2 separate regions of the Homo sapiens genome follow, and region 1 is linked to region 2. Evidence: promoter capture Hi-C in human tissues and cell types (Jung and others, 2019). All regions are on one chromosome and are shown on one strand. The core of a region is centred on a gene start or on the middle of the fragment in contact, and the rest is flanking DNA. Distances in the headings are between cores, read along the strand shown.

What was found. Contacts are between HindIII fragments. The study calls those that stand out against the background at their distance.
Region 1: a contact is called between a fragment that was not itself captured here and the fragment with the promoter of FBN3 in region 2, in 4 of the 25 tissues and cell types used here (heart right ventricle, lymphoblastoid cells, spleen and 1 more).

Annotation. Positions count from the first base shown.
Region 1 is chr19:8,240,117-8,242,816 of GRCh38, forward strand. The region is part of intron 2 of CERS4 (ceramide synthase 4); the gene reads left to right. It overlaps LOC107985282 (a long non-coding RNA gene), which reads right to left and starts at 378. Exons shown (of 2, transcript XR_001753859.2): 1 at 218-378. RefSeq lists a silencer at 400-449. The HindIII fragment of the contact is 3,994 bases long and covers 1-2,700 here.
Region 2 is chr19:8,148,152-8,151,010 of GRCh38, forward strand. FBN3 (fibrillin 3) reads right to left here and starts at 1,441. Exons shown (of 64, transcript NM_032447.5): 1 at 1,298-1,441. RefSeq lists an enhancer at 1-598. The HindIII fragment of the contact is 21,800 bases long and covers 338-2,859 here.

The DNA.
Region 1 (2,700 bases), core at 162-2,661, 92 kb after region 2:
GTATGTGACTGTCTGGGGTGCAAACATGGTACAAGTGAGCTTGGTGAGTTGGAAGCCCAGCAAGCAGCAGTTGCTATGGATTAAGCTGGGGAGGCAGAGGTGGGGAGGCAGCAGGGCCAGAATGTAGAGGGCAGGAATGTGTGCAGAAATAAGGGGCTCAGGTAAGGCGGAACCTTGAACTTGGGGTCCACCTTGGGGTCTTTGGGGGGAGTGGTACCTCAACCGGCAGCATCTCTGGTCACTAACACCCTGTGGGACCTCTGCTCAGAGAGGCTCAGAGTGGAAGAGACAGGTCCGTCTGGAAGGGACAGCCAGGACCCGGTGCAGAGGCAGGCTGTGGTTATCTGCAAACAGCCCCCTTCCTTCCAGCATGTCACGTGCTCCCGCCTGAGCCTCTGGCCGCAGGAATCAGGTGACCCCAGGCAGCGGGCCAGGCTGCAGGGGCGGGTGAGTGAGTCAATGTATGCAAGTGTGTGTGTGTGTGTGTGTGTGTGTGTGTTTTCATCTCTGGGAGGCCCAGACATCTGGGGTCTGAATTAATTGCCTTTTTCACAACCATGGACAAGTCCTGTATTTCCAGCTAGATTGAAAGCAAAACAAAACAAACCTATGTGCATAGCTCTGATCTGCTGAGCAGTGCCAGGGTCCTTGGGGGTTCGGGGAAGCCGTGGGAACCAGTCCTTCTCACTCAGACCCCTGAAGAGGGGCAGGGATCCTCTACTCATGCCCCCTAACCCACCTCCCGTGTCAGTACAAAGCCCCATTCTCTCTCTTTCCCCCAATCTGGGGCTATTTTTAGCCACTAAGAAGGATTATCAGTTTGGTTCCCAGGTGGCAGGGGCCAAGCTGGGAGTGGGGCCAGGGAGGCTTCAAACAGCAGCCAGGCTTGGGGGCGGGTGGGGTGAGGGGAGAAGAGGCTGGTCACACTGGCCCTGCCACCCACGCGGTGGCTCTGCAGATGACCCTGAAGCTGCTGTCGTCCAGCCCAGCCCAAACACTTCAGCTGCAGCTTTAAGGGAAGGTGGCAGGGGCAAGGAAAGCTTCCAGCAGCCTTAGGCACCTCAGATGCTGGAAACCGTCCTAAGGGCTTGGAAGAACCATCTAGAAGCCTCCATAGGCCAGCACCCCTTCTTTCCAGACCACTCCCCATCCTGCCCCCACCTCCTGTCTAGCAGTAACTATCACAGTCTAAGCTGTTTTTTGGGGGGTTTTTTTCCGAAACAGGATCTGCTCCGTCACCCAGGCTGGAGTGCAGTGGTGTGATCACAGCTCACTGCAGCCTCAAACTCCTGGGCTCAACCAGTCCTCTCACCTCAGCCTCCTGAGTAGCCGGGATTACAGGTGTGTGTCACTATGCCCACCTAATTTTTAAATTTTTTTGTCTTGCTATGTTGCCCTGGCTGGTCTCGAACTCCTGACCTTAAGCAATCCTCCCACTTCGGCCTCTCAAAGTGCTGGGTGTGAGCCACTGCACTCGGTCCTCTAAATTTTACTAGGTGCTCACTCCACCTCAGGTGCCATTCCGAACCACTCCATGTGGAAGAGGGGCTATTGTTTGTTCCATTTTACAGATAAAACTGAGGCACAGATAGGCCACGTTCCATGCCTGGTAAACGGGTGAGGCAGGAATCAGGAATCAGATCCGTTGTGATATCAGCATGGAGTGTTTATAAACTGCCCGCCTGCCCTGAGCCTCACAATAGCCTGGTAGAACAAGGAGGGAATCTAGCTGTACCCATTTTTCAGATGGGACAACTGAGGCCCAGGAAGACAGAGGATGACAGGGAACAAACAGAAGAACTGGATCCAAAAGAGAAAAGCTAGAAATTGAGGAACACATCCCTCAGCCTCATTTCCTCCCTTCCCTCAGGAGAAGTTGAGCCTTGCTGGCCTGAGGTGCCTGGTTATAGCCATGCCTGAGCCCCTCCCATATGCCAGACTCTGCCTCAATGCCCCAGGTGCAAGGTCTCTGAGCTGCTTAACCACCCTTCAGGGAGGGCACCTGTCCCACCAACAGGTGACGAAATTGAGGCTCCCAGGGCTTTGAAGCATTGCAGCTAGGACTCCAGCCAGTCTGCTGGGCTCCAGACCCTGTTCTTTTCTCAAACCACAGCATCTTTTATTTATGCTTTAAGAGGGAGAAGAGGGAAGGGACGAGACAGAGACAGGTTGGTGAGGTTAGTGAGAGAGTAGGACCTCTGGGGCCAGACCTCTGCAATCAGGGCATATCAGTCTGAAGCCTCCTTGGAGAGCTCCCTGGTTTAGAAAGTGCATCTGTTCCCCTTTCTGTGCCACTCAGGAAGCAATGGGCATGATTCAGCAGAGGAGAGGAGAGTTTAGAACTGGTTATGCTTCCTTCTCCAACCCTCCCTGCAAAAACACTGGCCAGCTCCTGACATCACAGTAAGACAGGGTTGCGGGAGGGTGCTTTAACAGGATCCAAAGCAGGGCAATTGGGCTGCTTTCAGGAGGAGGTGACAACTGAGCTGGGTTTTGAAGGATGCATAGGAGTTTGCCAAACAGAGAAAGAAAGCGTTTAAGCTCTTCAGGGCAGAGATGTTGCTTGTTTTCCCCACCATTTTGTGTCTTCAGCACCCAAATACTAAATGAGCATTCTAGGCAGAGGCCAGTATTTGTAAAGGCTAGGATGTGTGAAACGATATGGTCTGGTGGGAGCAGAGTATCAGTCAGTAAACTGGT
Region 2 (2,859 bases), core at 191-2,690:
TGCAATGCCTGGCCCCACCTGGCCCTGTGTCCCCTCGCCTCCACATCCCACGCCGGTCTTGCCTGGGCTGTGCACCCTTAGCCGCAAGACCCTTTTCTAACATCACACCTCCTCCAGGAAGCCTCCTCTGACTGTTCACTGCTCCCAGGTCAGGGCTGGATGCCTCCCTGGGCAGGGGGCCCAGGCAGGGGCTGGAACTTCCCAATGCAGAGAGTAACCCTGTGCCCAGCAGGGAAGGGACCGCTTCTGTGCCCATTTCACAGATGCACAAACTAAGGCCATCACACCATGAGTGAGGGGCTAAGCCGGAGCTTAAGCCCACGAAGAGAAGAAGGAGGGGAAGAAGATCAGGAACGGAACTCGCTCCTGCCCCCCTTGGCTGGGTCTTTCCTGGGCCATGAAGGACGGGAGGGAGAAGACCGGGACAGGAGACGACCGTTTGGAGGGTGGAGGCAAAATACTTGAGGGAGAGAAGCCAGACCAAGTGGCCTTCCTGTTCCATTCAGGTTCCAGGGAGGAAAGGAACCGGCCCTAGGTGGAGAATGGGCGGGGAGCCCTGCTGTGTGGTCTTGGCCACGCCCCTCTCTGGGCCAACCTGGTTGTCCAAAGGCCCCGGAGAAGGGAGAGACCCCTGTCAACGTTGGAGGGTTGGCTGGCTGGAGAGGGGCGCCCTCTTTTTCTTCTCAGTTGTCCGGGTCAGTCCGCACTCTGAGGCTCCGTGGACTCCAAGCAGCCTCGGGGCTTGCAAGCCCTCCTCCCCCACTCCCTCCGCCCCAGCCCCCTGCCTCGGGTCGGGTGGGGGAATTAGGTGGGGGGAGTCTCTGGCCTGATTTGCCTCGGTCCCCCCTACACACCGCTGCTTCTGCGAGCCACACCCTGGAGTTTGTGGAATGAATGAGCAGAGAAGGCGCGCCCGGCACGGGGTGTGGAGGCTGAGGGCCAAACAGCGAGGGATACCAAGCTTCGCCGACGGGGAGGGGGCGCCCCCGGAGCCCGCGGGGCGCGATCTCCACCCGGCAGGGCCCCCGGCCGCGACCACGCTTGGCTCCGCCCTCACCTGTGGGGTCAGGGGCCCCGCGCCCCGGCCGAGCCCCTCCCGCCGGGTCCCCGCGCCCCCACTCCCCACTGCGGCGGGCGCCACTAGAAGGCGGAGAGGGGAGGGGGCTGGGCCCGGGGCTGCCCGGCTGCGAACAAAGGAATCCTCTCCCCCTCCCCCTGCCGGCCCCCCCGCCCCCGCCTTCTCCACCCTTCAGCGCCCGCGATCTCGCCCCGCCGCTGGCCCCGCGCCTTCACCTACCTGCGAGGCGGCGCGCGTGGAGGCGGGCACGGCAGGCGGACGCGCGGGACTCAGCGCTGCAGGGCGGGCTCCTGCGGCGCCGGGGACCCGGGGCGGGAACGCAAAGCCGAGAGGCCGACCCCGCCGCGTTCCCAGCCCAGAGCTGCCACTCGGGGGGGAGTTGGGGGCGGGAGGAGTTGGAGGAGGGCGCGTTTGCACCTCTTAGCTCCCGGGGCGGGGACGGGGGGCTCCGATCCGGGGCGGGGAGAGAGGCTGCGGCTCGGGGGAGGGTCCGGGGCTCCGAGTGAAAAACTCCGATGGACTGGAGGGATGTGAGGGCGGGCTGGGGGCGCCTAGTAGGGGCTGCCGGGGCCGCGTTTTCGGATCGAGACTAAGGTGGAGGTGGGGCTCTGACTTTTGGAGGGCCTGGACGACAGCCTGGGCAGAGAAGTCCCGGGACTCACCTGGGCGGCCCTCTCAGGGCCTCCCAAGCCGCCACCCCCTCCCTCGAGCAAGGAGAATTGCGAGAGTGACGTTGGAAACTCACCTGGCTCTTGGAGCCTGGATTCTTAACTAGGCTGAGATCAGGGGCCCCTAAATATGTTGACAAAACATTGGGCAAAGCTGTATTTCCCAGGGAGAAGGGCCCAGGTTTTTCATCTGGTTCTCAAAATGAAGAGGTTAACAATTCAAACGGTGTAAACTTTCAAATCTCTTTGAACCTGTTTGTCCACCTACCAAAGGGACCAGACAAGAATTTTGGCTCCCTATCTGTTGTCAGTACTCCAAACAAAAATTTCTAGGCTTTTCCACTACCTTCATACCTTTGAGAATAGACCCTTAACATGGGGATCTGTCAGAAGCTGTGCGTTGGGCCTGAAGCTGTTACTCCATCCAGCAAACTCCTACGCATCTGTCAAAGTCCAGTTCAAAAATTCCCTCCCTATCCGCAAATTGTGAGTTTACTCTATTGAACTCCCAAAGCTGATTGTGCTGAATATCCCCCCACCACAGTACTTCCGGAATCTAATAAATAAGTAAGCCCAGTGGGCTTGAAACCAGGAGTTCGAGACTAACCTGGGTAACATAGTGAGACCCCATCTCTAAAAAAAAAAAAAAAAAAAAAATTAAAAAGAATTAGCCAGGCCTGGTGGCATGCATCTATAGTCCCAGCTACTCAGGAGGCTGAGGCAGGAGGACTGCTTCAGCCTAGGAGGTTGAGGCTGCAGTGAGTTATGATTGTGCCACTGCACTCCAGCCTGGGCAACTGAGCAAGACCCTATCTCCAAAAATTGGAGACCCTGTCTCCATTCCGGAAGTGCTATGGTGGGAGTATATTCAGCAAGTCAGCTTTGGGAGTTCAATAGGGTAAACTCACAATTTGCAGGGAGGGAGAGGATTTTGTTTATGTTTTGTTTTGTTTGTTTTTTGAGACAAAGTCTTGCCCTGTCACCCAGGCTGGAGTGCAATGGCACGATCTTGGCTCACTACAACCTCCACCTCCCAGGTTCAAGCAATTCTCCTGCTTCAGCCTTCCGAGTAGCTGGGATTACGGGCTTGTGCCATCATGCCCGGTAAATTTT